Regions from separate parts of the Homo sapiens genome. Here region 2 is linked to region 1. Evidence: promoter capture Hi-C in 16 types of primary human blood cells and fetal thymus (Javierre and others, 2016). All regions are on one chromosome and are shown on one strand. The core of a region is centred on a gene start or on the middle of the fragment in contact, and the rest is flanking DNA. Distances in the headings are between cores, read along the strand shown. Region 1 holds the start of TCAF1 (TRPM8 channel associated factor 1). Region 2 overlaps OR2A14 (olfactory receptor family 2 subfamily A member 14).

What was found. Contacts are between HindIII fragments. The CHiCAGO score rates a contact against its expected background, and 5 or more counts as called.
Region 2: a contact is called between a fragment that was not itself captured here and the fragment with the promoter of TCAF1 in region 1, in 2 of 17 cell types (naive CD4 T cells and total CD4 T cells). The highest score is 7.0, in naive CD4 T cells.

What each region holds. Positions count from the first base shown.
Region 1 is chr7:143,898,944-143,906,162 of GRCh38, forward strand. It overlaps TCAF1 (TRPM8 channel associated factor 1), which reads right to left and starts at 3,233. Exons shown (of 9, transcript NM_014719.3): 1 at 3,018-3,233. LOC105375549 (a long non-coding RNA gene) reads left to right here. Exons shown (of 3, transcript XR_007060574.1): 3 at 1-3,010. RefSeq lists enhancers at 2,201-2,738, 2,414-2,463, 6,806-7,219 and a silencer at 3,254-3,393. The HindIII fragment of the contact is 7,751 bases long and covers 1-5,761 here.
Region 2 is chr7:144,123,890-144,131,096 of GRCh38, forward strand. OR2A14 (olfactory receptor family 2 subfamily A member 14) reads left to right here. Exons shown (of 2, transcript NM_001001659.3): 2 at 5,190-7,207. The coding sequence starts at 5,224. The coding sequence ends at 6,156. Among named protein-coding and RNA genes, the nearest start is that of OR2A14, 4.3 kb to the left of the region's middle. The HindIII fragment of the contact is 1,344 bases long and covers 3,286-4,629 here.

The sequences.
Region 1 (7,219 bases), core at 1,983-4,482:
TCTTTCAGCCTTTCTCTGCCTTTATGCCATGGAATGACACAGTAAGAAGGCTCTTTCTTGCCAGATGCCAGCCACTCAATCTTGGACTTCCCAGCCTCCAGAACTGTGAGCTGATAAATTTTTGTTCCTTATACATTACTCAGTCTCAGGTATTCTGCTATGGTAGCACAAAACAGACTAAGACACAGAGTTGATCCATTATCAATCAGAATTCCAACAGGTTTATTTGCTTGTTTGTTTCTTGTTTTGGAGAACTTGATAAGTTTATTTAAATATTTATATGGAAGGTCAAAGGTCCAAGTAAAGCTAAAACACTCTTAAAGAAGAAGAAACAGGTGATAGGACTTTTCCTACCAAATTTCAAGGCTTTTAATAAAACTATAGTGGTTAAAAATTATTTAGTATTGAGGCAGAGTTAGACAAATAGAAAATAAGAATGGGGGCTTAAAACGAATTCATGCTTATATGGAAATCCTGATTCATGCAAATCACTGGTGCTGGGGCAACAGATTATCCATATGGAATAAACAACATAAAAATCAGTTTCCATGTGGATTAAGACTAATTGCCAAAGGCAAAACTATAACACTTTTAGAAAACGATACACTAAAATTAATCTATGATCTTGAGAAAACAATTATCAAACAAGAAAAGCTATAAAAGAAAGTACTACTAACTTGAAATTAAATTCAAAACTTAGATTCATTGATAGAAACAGAGAAAGAAACAGATATAAAGACATAGAGAGAAAGAAAACCTCAAAAGCAAATTGGAAAGATGTCTGTGGCATATATAGCTAACAATTACTGCTTCGTACCCAGATTATATAAAGAAAGCATTCCAATGAGTCAATAAAAAAGGTAAACAAACAATCCAATACAAAAATGAAAGAGACAGGAATCAGAATTTCACAAAGAGAAAGCACTGATCAACATATAAAAAGTCAATCTCATTAGTTATGGAAAATGCTAGTTAAAATCACAGTTAAATGCTATTTCATACCTGCCAGACTGACAAAAAATGTAATTTTACAAGACTAAGCTGTGGCAAGCATGTAGAGCAACAAGAATGCTCATCCACTGCTGGAGGGAGTGCAAACTGGTTTAACACTTTGGAAAGTTTAGAAATGACCCAATAAAATTGAATACACATAAATCTTATAACTCCGCAATTCTACTCCCAGCTATATACTCTAGGGAAGCTCCCACACAAGTGTACTTGAATATTAGAGGACATGGGCAGGCTTTAAAGTGGCCCCGATAATCCCTGCCTCCAGGTGTTCATGTCCTTGTGTCACCCCCTTCCCTTCAGTGTGAGTTGGGCCTAGGGACTCACTTCTAATGAATATAAAATGGCAAAAATAATGGGATGTCGCTTCTGAGGTTACAGAAAGAATCTGACTTCTGTCTTTCTCTTTTTCTCTGTGGGAGCCTTCTCTCTGGGGGGAGTAAGCTGCCATGTTGCAACCATTCTTTATACAGAGGCCCATGTGGCAAAGAACTGATGTGTACAGCCAGGGTCAGTGAGGCCAATCGGCCTGCCAGCAGTCATGTGAGTAAGCCTGGGAGAGGTCCTCGACCCTACGCCTAGCCTTGAGATGACTGAGGCCCAGTCAATACCTTGATTGTTGATACAGCTTGTGAGAGACCCTGAGTCAGAGACTCCCAGCTAAGCCCCTCCTGGATTCCTGATCACAGAAACTGTAAGATAGGAGGTAACAGGACTTGTTTTGTTTGTTCGCTTTGGTTTGAAGCTGCTAGGTGTTGGGGTAATTTGTTACATAGCTTATAGATAAATCATACACCTCCAAAAGTAGAAACAATCCAATGTCCATCAGCAGTAGAATGGATAAATTATGTACATTTACACCTTAAATGACGAAAACGAAAATGGAAGGAAGCATGAAAGATGAATCTATAAAACTTAAGAATACGTACAGGATAATGTCATTAATATAATGTCATTATAATGAGAAAGCCAATACATATGTTTTAGGAATACACACACAAATATGGTAAAACTAAAAAGAAAAGCAAGGGATTCATTAAATTAAGACAAAAATCACGAAAGATGTCACATCTCAGAGAATGGAGGAGAATGGACCATGGGCATCAGTTGGGACTCATGGGCTTCTAAGGTACTGTGACGCCCTATTTCTTGACCCAAGGAGATGGTCAGGCATTCGTTTCATTATTTTTTAGACCATTCTGAGATATTTCATTTACTTTTTATTCAACATTTTAAAACAAAGTATTGAAACCAATTCATCAACAAATCACTAGTTTGGAGGATGAAAGTGATGGACCGATGGTTGGCTGGTCAGCTAGACAGACACATTCTGTCCTTTACGTCTAGTTCGAGCTGTACTTCTTCTAAATTTCCATGATTATCCAATTGGCAAAGATCTTTTTCTCCTGTACTTAAGGCCTTCTTCCGTTGCAGGTTGGGCCAAACTAGCGGCCAGCTCTCGGCTGTTTACCAGGGAACTGTATCACCCAGCACTTGCTGCTTCAGGCCAAATGCATTCCAGACTAACATTCAGCCTGAATCCCCGCGCCGCTCTCACCGCCACCCCTCCCCAGGTCCCTTCCCCCACCACAAACCCACACTGCGCCCGTGGGCGCCTAGAGCACTGGGGTGGATGAGAACTTCCACCTGGGCTTAACGGAGACAAGCTAGCCTAGAAGAATGCAAGCCCCCAGCTGGCGAGATCAAATCGCCTCGAGGGTTCCTGCTAGCTCAGATCTTAATGGCTCCTTGCGGAGCAAAAAACAAATCCTACGAAAATAGGGGGGGTCATCGCCTCCTGCCCAGCAGAGGGCATAACAATGCGGCGAGAATGAAATAGGCACCGAGCTGCAGAGAAAAATCATCAACGGGGTAGAGACGAAGGAAGGGATCCTCGGTGGAACGGCTCTATCACCTGGGGGCGCGCGCAGAGGCCGCAATCCACGCCCGGCCCTCCCCAGACGCTAAACGTCGCACCCCGCCCACCGCTCCCCGCCCCGGACACTAACCCGGGGCCCAGGCCTCGGTCACCGCGGGCCTCTCCTGGTCCAGAGTCTACGCTGAACCCCACTCACTGTTTGCCCCGCTGTTCCCTGCAGCGCGGGTTCGGGGCAGTAGCAACCTGCTAGGAGCGGGAGGCGGTTGTTCCCAGGAGGAAGCAGCTTCTCCGCCCAGGAGGCAAAGGGCAGCGGGCTCGAAACTACAGGACTTGGAAAGTCTTAGGCGGAGACTGCGGGGGTGGGGGGTGGTGAGGAGGGGCCTTCCAGGGAGCTGATTGGTCGACGCGGACGGGGGCGGGACTTGGCCGGCGCCGTCCCTCCCCTAGACCTCAGAGGCCCTGCCCGCAGATGTGGCGCCAAATCCCGGATGCAGGCCTAGGCGCCAGCCCAGGAATATAGGGAGCAAATTGTTAAGAACAAAACAAAACAAAACAAAAGTGAGAATACTTCTGAACAAGTGACGGCCTTGATAAATAGCGAGAGATGTTTATATAAAATAATACAGGACTATTTTTAAGGACGAGTGAAATCTATCGGTTCTAGCTATAGTTTTTAATTAAAAAAGCAAGTTGTATTAAAATGGAGAGTAGGATCTCTCTTTCCCCCTCCCCTCCCCTCCCCTCCCCTCCCCTCCCCTCCCCTCCCCTCCAGGGGGAGGGTCTGCTTCTGCCACCCAGGCTGGAGTGCAGTGGTGCCATCACAGCTCACTGCAGCTTCAACCTCCCAGGCTCAAGCGATCCTTCCACCTCAGAGGCTGGGACCACAAGTGCGCCGCCACCACGCCCAGCTAACTTTTTGATTTTTTGTTAGAGACAGGGTTTTACTTTGTTGCCCAGGCTGGTCTCGAACGCCAGGGCTCAAGTGATCCTCCCGCCTCGGCCTCCCAAAGTGCTGGGATCACAGGCCTGAGCCACTGCATCAGCTTTAGCATTACATTCGTGTATGAAGAAGACATGCTGCATGTGCTTCTATAAGAGGCGGGGCTAACGGTGGAGAAATTGTCTATTGATTCTTACCTTCACAACCACTGAATTGTTTTTTTTTAAACCAATACATTGTTTTTATAAGTTTAATAAAACAGTAAGGCGTTGAGAATGTTACTAACCAATCAACAGATGACAGATATTGGGCATGAGGGAGGAAAGAAAGAAAGGAGTAGCAGGGAAAAAGCCTGGACTTTGAAGCCACCACATCCTCTGCTTACAAGTTGGGCAGTGTATTCATTGCTAAGGCTGCTGTGATAAATTTTCACACATTTAGTGGCTTAAAACAACACAGATTTACTACTATCTTCCAGGACTGTAGGTCCTGGAAGTCCAGCACAGGTCTCACTGGGCTATCATCCAGGTGTAGGCAGGGATGTGTTTCTCTTTGCAGGATCTAGGGACAAATCTATTTTCCTTGCTTTTTCCAGCTTCCAGAGGCTCCCGCATTCCCTGGCTTGCAGCCCTTTCCTTCATCTTCAAAGTCAGCAATCTCATGGCTCCAGCCTCTGCTTCTGTGTCACATCTCCTTCTTTGAGTCTCCTGCTTCCTTCTTTCACTTAGAAGGACCTTGTGATTACATTGTGCCTATCCAGATAATCTAGATAATTTCCCATCTCAAGGTCAGCTAATTAGCAGCCTTCATTCTGTCTGCAACCTTAATTCTCCCTTGCCATGTAGCATTGCGTATCACAAATTCTGGGAATTAGGATCTGGACATCTGTATTAATCCATTTTCACACTGCAGATAAAGACATTCCCCAGACTGGGCAATTTACAAAAGAAAGAGGTTTAATTGGACTCACAGTTTCACGTGGTTGGGGAGGCCTCACAATCATGGCAGAAGGCAAGGAGAAGCAAGTCACATCTTATGTGGATGGCGGCAGGCAAAGAGACAGCTTGTTCAGGGAAACTGCCGTTTTTAAAACCATCGGATCTCCTGCGACCTCTCCACTATCATGAGAACGGTTGGGGAAAGACCCACCCCCATGATTCAATCATCTCCCACCAGATCCCTCCCATAACACGTGGGAATTATGGGAGCTGCAAGATGAGATTTGGGTGGGGGCACATAGCCAAACCATATCAACATCTTTAGGGAGCTATTTTTCTGCCTATCACAGAGGGCTTGTTAACTTCTATCTTAGTGTTTTCATCTGTAACATTGGGGATAATAATTGTCTCTACTTCATGGAATTTTTATGAAGATTAAATGACTTAATACAGATAAAGCTCTTAAAGCAGTGTCTGGCACATGGAAAACCCTATGTGAATGTTCACCATTACCAGAGAATGGACAGATCCTTCCAGACTTCTTCCATGATTTCCTTGGCCCTTGTCTCCTTTGCTCTTCAAATCTCCAAGTTGTGTGTTCTCTCCTCATTTCCCTGCAAATCTAGTCTCCCCTCAAAACTACATAGGCCTAGCCTGAGATTGGAGGGCAGACATGGATGGGACTTTACTTCTAAGAGATTTCTAGAAGTGAATGCACCCAGCTACTAGCACAGAGGCATAGTTTATGACTACTATGGTGAAAGGAAAAACCAGCGTCTGGATGTGTTTGTGCGGTTAAATGGGGTGTCTGGGGGGAAACTGTGGGGGCAGGTGGGTGTTTGGGGATTGTAGACTGAGTGTGTCTGAAAGACCAGGATTGCTTGCAGTTACCTCTCTTTCTCATTCTCTCATTTCTCATTCTCTCTGCCAAGACAGCTGCACTTCTCTCTTGCCAGATCCCTTCTCCCCTCAGAAGCTGACAGTCAACAGGACATAAGCTTGCCCACCCCCACTCCCTCTCCAGGCACACAAGCAAAACCCACCATTTTTAGTTGCTGTTGTTTTTGCTGTGCAATTGGTCATAGAATTTCAGAGCTACAACATCTCATCCACTCTCCTCCTTTATATTAATACAAAAAGGAACACTGAAATGCAAGCAGCAGAAGGGGTTTGCAGCAGGTAGAGGTGGAGCATGACCTTGGAATTCAGATGCCAGCGCTCTTGCAGTACAAAGTCCTTGAGGCTGAGATCACTGGCTAGTCCTCTCGGCGCCTCATGTTTCTGTGTGTGTGTGTGTGTGTGTGTGTGTGTGTGTGTGTGTGTGTGTGTGTTTGTGTGTGTATATGTTTTAGGGTATGGAAGGACACGGAGCCAGTGCAGCAGAGAAAACCCCTTCACCAGCAAGCACACCAAGACTCCTGAACCTGGGCCAGTGCGAGTTCTGGGCCAGCCAAGGCCAGGAGTTTCCATTTCACTTGCCTCCTCCCGCTACTGGCCACCCCTCAGCTCCTCCAACCCCCTCACCCACCACTCCCCCACCCCTTTCCTCTCCTTCTCAGGCTTGCTCTTTGTGGACTGGCTGTGATCCTGGGAGGAAAGGAGGAGAGAGGGGAGCCCTGCCAGACTGCAAGCAGAGTGCTGACAGCCCCTAGGAGTTTAAGATGACCTTTCTTACACGTCATCGCATGTTTTATAGCTCTGAAGAGCAGCAGTCTTTTTGGTGGCTAGTAAGTGCAGTACTAGACAACAAGGCAAGTGGTCTGTTGGTAAGAGTTCCTGCCCACGATGCTCTCTACCTGTAAGGAATTAAATTATCTCGGGGATGAAGGTGAACAATATGTAAGAGAGAAGATGGACAGAAAGACCCAAGGGAAATGAGCAGTAAAAGGGAAGCAGGGTTTAGAATTGAGGGAGACCTGTGAGATTGGGGCAGAAAGGGAAAACAGGTCAAACAGGCTCAGAAGGGAAGTGGAGGGGTTTTGCTTTTGAGAAAGGTGCTGTAGGGAGGAGAGACACAGCAGTGGGAGTGAAGGAACCCACAGTGCAGGAAGAAGGTCTTATTTATATTAGAGTGAGGTCATTGGCAAGAGAGAGAGAGAGACAGAGACAGAGACAGAATCCATCTGATTCCCTTCCTTCTGGCTTGACTGGAAGCTGGAAAGGATGGATGGAGAGGGTTGGTGCTGAATTCTGAAACCAGCCCTCGGTAACATGGCCAGCAAATTGCTCTCAGCTTTATGAAATTTGTAGTCTTGTCTATAGTTTAGGAATCTAAACCTGAACCGGTTCTCGAAAACATGGCAATGTAATCTTCTCCATTTCCCAACCTCCCTGCCATCTCTCAGTCCGGTAGCTAGGATGTGTAATTCCTTGCCTCAGGTACTTTTCCAATGCAGAAAGCAAAGCGTCAGGGCCACTTCACGGATGTGTGACCACTGCAGTCCCGTGGACCCC
Region 2 (7,207 bases), core at 2,708-5,207, 230 kb after region 1:
ACAGAACATGTCTCCTTATGATGACTGGATCCAGACATTCTCCTTAACGATGGTTCTCATATCCCTAATTATATATCTAAAAAACCTAAGTTCTTATGTGAGTTAATGCATTTAATCCTCACAACTATGTTATGAGACAGAATTTATTACCCCATTTTGTAGATTGGGAAACTGAGGCATGAAGAGGCACAGAGAAGTCATAAAGCTAGTATGCAGCAAAGCCAGGATCTGAACCCAGGCTGCAGGGCTCAGGAATCCATGCTTGTTCATTTGTTTTTAACACTAGGCTGCGGCCGGGTGCAGTGGCTCACGCCTGTAATCCCAACACTTTGGGAGGCCAAGGCAGGCAGATCACCTGAGGTCAGGAGTTTGAAACCAGCCTGACCAACACGGAGAAACCCCATCTCTAATAAAAATACAAAATTAGCCAGGCATGGTGGTGCATGCCTGTAATCCCAGCTACTTGGGGAGCTGAGGCAGGAGAATTGCTTGAACCTGGGAGGCGGAGGTTGCGGTGAGCCGAGATCTCACCATTGCACTCCAGCCTGGGCAACAAGAGCGAAACTCCGTCTCAAAAAAAAAAAAAAAAAAAACTAGGCTGCTCCCTAGGACTAAGCTCAGTGTCAAAGTATATTATTGGAGATGGCAAGTTATTTCTGAGTAATTGCAAAGATTTGACAAATCAGTGCTGCCTTACAACCCCACTGCTGGAGGCCCCAGGGCTCCCATTCTAAGACAATTTTCAATAGAAACTTTTCTTTTGTGTCAGTGCTAAACACCCTAAATACGCCCCCCTTTTCTTTCCAAAAAATTAATCCTCTCTCTATCATTGGGATATTTAGCATGGTGGGATTGACCTCTTACTATTACAGCCTGTATTTTTTTTTCTTCAGTAAGGGAGTGTGGTTACTTCAAAGGAGTCTTCCATTTCTTTAAATTGCTTTTTAATTTTAAAAATCAAAATATAGGAACATTTATATTAGGAAATCAAAGCAAAATGTGTGTCTTATATTTAAACTCAAAAACAGCCAAAAAGAAAAGCAAGATAAACGTGAAAGTGTTTGCAACACCATGATGATTGCACTGGATTTCCAATTCCTATGCTTTAATACTTCCCTCAATTTTACGATCTCTTTAATATCATTAGTAACAGCTGACATTTATTAAATTCCTATAATGTACCAGTGCGATGGTATTTCTTCTTCACATCAGTCCTTTTGGTATCTGTGGTCAACATTTTACATTTGACAATAATGAGCCTTAGAATACGTGACTCAAATGCGTCATGTTCATTGCTCAGAATCAAGACTGGAATAGTGTTCTGGCCAAGACTGTTACTCCTGTTGCTTTCATTCTTATTCAGAGACCATATTTTTTTCTGTCACTGCTAAATTTGCTTTGCTCTTTAAGAACAGAAAAATGTATCCATGCAGTTTTTTCCCTTACTCCATCCACTGAAGATTGTTCTGTAATGTGTAACTGGAGTGGATGCCTAAATAAATCTTCCTTTCAGATATCTGATTCTTTATTGAACTTCCACAGGCTTTTCTAAAAGAAAAGTCTGACTACTTGAACTGTGAAATCCAAAATACAAAAGGATGCCAATAAATAAAAGGAAAAAAACTATTTTCCTCTTATACTGTATATTTGTTTACTTAACTTCACAATTGAACAGATGGACAATTTTTGTGTGTAGGTAGCCACCATTATAGACTTTTCTCCTTGTGGCCTCTTGTACACAACTGTTAAAAGCACAGTTGATAACCAGAGTTTTATACAGTTTGGATGTAGTTCACGTCTGATTAAATTTCACTTTCACTAAGAATTCTATTTGTTTCTTTCTTTATTCCTGCTCTTTAGAAATAGTTTATTCTAGGCTGCTGGGGTTTTTTTCCCCGAAATTCCTTACTTTACAAAAATTACAAATAAAACTATAAACCCAGATTTGCTTAATTATGAATTTAGATTAACCAAACAATTGTATTTATTTGGTAATGACTGGATTTTTTTTTTACTCCTAAAGCATCCAAATGCCTGCTACCTAGGTCACTGGGCCTTGGAACAGTAGGAGCACAGATGTGTACACCACAGATGGGAGCCAGGAGGGACTAAAAATATGCAAAATATCCATGTGCTTGGAGGTCTCAGGGATAAAAGGCTTCTCCTTTTCAGCTTGATTCATTGGGACATTAACACAACATTTGCTGTGTCCAAAAATTGACAACTACCATTCTGGCATTAAAATTATATTGTGCAGAAAATTAAACAGTTTCCTATTTCAAATATGTGCTCATTGGAAGTTCTGTACATACATATCTTTTAACTGTATTCTGCTTTCATGAATCTAAAAGTAAATCAATTATTATAAAGTCAAAAGTATATCAGCTAAACTGATGAATTTTTTATGTCAATTTCAGATTGTTAAAAATATAAACAAGGTTACAAAGAATAAGTACAATCTCCTGCTCACTATGGTTCAGGTACATTGTGTTTCTTTCTTTCTCTTCCCAGAACTCACCAAGTGCATCTTGTTCAGAGACTTTGCGTTTACTGTTCCATTACTGTTCTCTGTGTAGAGAATGATCCTCTTTTGGCTCTGGGCAGGGTTGTGGCCTTCATGGTTTAGGTTCCACTCACCTGTCTCCTCTTAAGAGAGACCTTTTCCAACCATCCCATCTAAAGGAGACCCCCCTCAAATCAAGTAGCTTTCTATTATTTTACCTAGATTATTTCCTTCATTGTTCTTTTCATGGCCAGCAATTATCTTTACTTGTTTACTCCTGGTCTTTTACAGTGGTAATGAATCATGCCCTCTCTCTGTTCCAAGTCTGGAAAAAATGAGTTGAATAATACATGAAAGAATCGGATATAATTCAAAAAGGTATTTTATTAATAAAGTCTGTTGAAAAGCATGGTTTATATTTTCAACAAAGTTTCTCTCCAAATTAAAATCACAACCATTAGCTGACACCCCTTCCCCACCTCCAAATGGGACTGAACATGCTCCTGATACCTTAATCCCAAGCAGATAGAAATGCATGCAGGTGAAACAGAGAACAGAGAAAGGTCACCCTCAGTTTCTCTTTCCTGTTTCACAAATCATATAAATTAGGGGAAAGAGAGAGGCAGGTATACTCTAAAACAATTTTATCCAGGGGCATAGAGGTTTCCTTCCCTAAATAGAAATGTGAGGTGTGGAAGAGAAGCACATCACCTTAATATTACTTCTTTATAATCTGCCTCCCTTTCAGAATGTGTTTACATCATCCACAGCTGGGCCTCTAAAGCTTAGAACAGTGGCTGAAACAGATCATGCACTCAAGGATCATTCGTTAAGGGATATACAAAATACAAATATAAGTTACAGAACATTGTTTGCTTATGAAAGTAACAGAGATTGTAATTGGTAATGCCTAGTACTGACTATGTGGCAAAGAGACATGATTCTTACACACTGTGGGAGGGAATTGCAATTGGTCAGATTTTCTAGATGGAAGTTAAAATAGGGATAAAAACCTTAGAAATGTCTGTATATTTAGCATCTGCAATTTCACTTTTAGAATATGTTCTAATAAATAATTATGAATATAGGCAAATCTTAAGTTTAAGAGAAATGTATCTCAATGCCAATAAAAATAAGAAATAAACAAAAATTCAAACAGTAAGAAATTCAGTAAATTGTGACAGAATATTGTGCCCCTTTAAAATAATGTCCATAAAATATAATTTCGATACAGGAAAAGTATTATATTAAGTGAAAAATTGTAATGTTTAAATACTCTGTACAATACCCTATTTTAATATATAAATTTGAGGATCTACGTATTTACTAAAATAAAAGACATCAAAATTGTTTTTTTAAAAGTATCCTGTTGGATTTGAACCTTTAGCCTGATTTGAAAATAAAGATAGTCCTCAGGCTGTTTCTGGAATAAATGTGAAGTGTTAACAGAACAGCACCAGGTCACATGGTTTCTCCACCTGATGAGGCCATCCGTCCTGTTCATGGCCCTTGGTCGCCCCCTGCTGGCTGGATAGACCCAGACCCTCCAGGAAGAGCTCCTTAGAAAGAGCTCACCAGCTGGGGCTGCACCTGATCCCATCCCCATCACATGCTCAGATTCCATCTGAACAGCAACAGGGCTGCTGGCATGATCACAGGTGATGGAGAAGAATACAGTTAGGGGAACCGACAGCAACCCCAGTTGCCATAGCTGGGAATATATTGATGACAAAAGACTCTGTCACACTGGAAAGTAAGATAAGCTCTGAGAGATGTCAACATATTAAGTTATAATCGAGAAAAGAGTCCAATAAAATACAATTACGATACAGCGATCATCTTTAAATGTAACCACTTAATGTAAATTGGTTTTTCTTTTGAATTTCTTATTTAAAAGACCTCAGAAATGTCACCATGCTTAGTTATTTTAAAGATATATACATGTATTCATTGTATGTAGCCAAGAATTATTTCACTCATGCCTAATTTACAATAACAGATGCTGATGAAGAAGTAAGGAAAACTCTCAAAATAAAACTACAAACACCAGATATGGAAAAGAGGCACCTAAAGTTGCTGCTAGGGAGTACTGGCCAGCTTCTGAAAAGGAGCGTCTTATCTCAGAAAGCTTTAAAGAAACTACAAAATTGAAAGCTATTTAAAAGTGATTTCAAATCTGAAATAAGTGGGTAGAAAAGCCTGTGAGGAGGTGAGGGACAGTGAGCAAGCCCATGGCAAACAGAGGGTCCCCGTCCCTGCACATCTCAGACTGAGAAGGAAGCAGGATGAGCAAGTGAAACCACCTCATAATGCAACATTTGTCAAGGTCCTCTCTTCTCAAACTACGTAAAAATCAAGATTTCACACTGAAAGGGAAGCAAGGATACTTGAGTTCTTCAAAATAACACATGTGCGTGTGTATCCCCTTATGTAGGGTATATTATAATAGATCCTGTTTTGTTATATTTTATTAAATGTTATATACATGTACACATACACACACAAATATATATACACATATACATGTATGTATTCTTATTATTCCATTGATACAATGCGATTTTTTCTCATTTTTATGAGCACACTTGGTTAGTTTTGGCAACATATCTGAGAATAAATTCTAGAAAATTCATTCAAAGTTATAATTTCTAAGTGCTCCCTCTGTGCATCTTTGACTGGCCCACAGCTCTGACCTTCCTGTCCTAGATGTCCACAAGAGCATGGAAGGCAACAAGACATGGATCACAGACATCACCTTGCCGCGATTCCAGGTTGGTCCAGCACTGGAGATTCTCCTCTGTGGACTTTTCTCTGCCTTCTATACACTCACCCTGCTGGGGAATGGGGTCATCTTTGGGATTATCTGCCTGGACTGTAAGCTTCACACACCCATGTACTTCTTCCTCTCACACCTGGCCATTGTTGACATATCCTATGCTTCCAACTATGTCCCCAAGATGCTGACGAATCTTATGAACCAGGAAAGCACCATCTCCTTTTTTCCATGCATAATGCAGACATTCTTGTATTTGGCTTTTGCTCACGTAGAGTGTCTGATTTTGGTGGTGATGTCCTATGATCGCTATGCGGACATCTGCCACCCCTTACGTTACAATAGCCTCATGAGCTGGAGAGTGTGCACTGTCCTGGCTGTGGCTTCCTGGGTGTTCAGCTTCCTCCTGGCTCTGGTCCCTTTAGTTCTCATCCTGAGCCTGCCCTTCTGCGGGCCTCATGAAATCAACCACTTCTTCTGTGAAATCCTGTCTGTCCTCAAGTTGGCCTGTGCTGACACCTGGCTCAACCAGGTGGTCATCTTTGCAGCCTGCGTGTTCATCCTGGTGGGGCCACTCTGCCTGGTGCTGGTCTCCTACTTGCGCATCCTGGCCGCCATCTTGAGGATCCAGTCTGGGGAGGGCCGCAGAAAGGCCTTCTCCACCTGCTCCTCCCACCTTTGCGTGGTGGGACTCTTCTTTGGCAGCGCCATTGTCACGTACATGGCCCCCAAGTCCCGCCATCCTGAGGAGCAGCAGAAAGTTCTTTCCCTGTTTTACAGCCTTTTCAATCCAATGCTGAACCCCCTGATATATAGCCTAAGGAATGCAGAGGTCAAGGGCGCCCTGAGGAGGGCACTGAGGAAGGAGAGGCTGACGTGAGACATCTCAAAGGGAACCATGGGGAGGGAGCCTTGCTCCCTGCAAAATATAGAAGTTGGCTTTTTTTTTTTGTCTTCTGCTAGAATAAATGCTACCTTAAACTGGAATACTATAGACCTATACATATAAACTGAAGACACAAATCTTTTAGAAAAGATAGGTAAATGCATTTATAATACTGGATAGGCATAAATTCATAAAGAAGACACAAAAGTCCCTAGATATAAAATTTTTAAGTTCGATAAATATAGGACCTCTTCACATTAATCATTGTGCTCATCAAAGTCACCATTAAGAAAGAAGAAATGCAAGCCACAAACCAAGTGATCGTATGGAAACTACATGTACCCAGAAATGGAACTATTGTTCATACAGTACATAGAAAGAACTCCTTTAAATCAGCAATAAAAAATATAAACAACCAAATTTTATAAAATTAGCAAAACATGTGAACATATACTCTTACAGAAAATACAAGGGGCTGATAAACATACAAATGCTGCTTTCCACCATTAGTAAGCAAGGAATTGTAAATTAAAACCACCATGAGATACTATTATATACCCACTAAGATGTCTGAAATTTTTAATGGCTTATTTATCATTGAGGTTATTGGAAATCTATTTCTAATATTGGAAATGGTCGATACTAGCAGAGTTTGTGCCAATAGTAGCCAAGTCACATTGAGTTAACAGGAGCATAGTACACATCCTCAAGATCAATAATTAGTGACACTTCCTGTGAAGATACACAGGTTAATGCTTAAGGCTTTGAGGGCCATCTTCTGCGTCAAAACAACTCAACTCTGACAAAAGCAGCCATAGACAATGTGTAAACAAATGGGTGTGCCCGTGTTCCAATAAAACTTTATTTGTAAAAACAGGTGGCTGCTGGAATGGTGCCCAGGGACAGTAGTTTGTGAACCCTTGTTCTAGATCTTAAAACTAGCATAGTTCCAGCTGATCCCACTTTAGAGACCCTCACTGGGTGGGGCCTCAGGGAGCATGTGATTAGACATGTCTTGCAGTCAAATTCCTGTGATCACATTGTA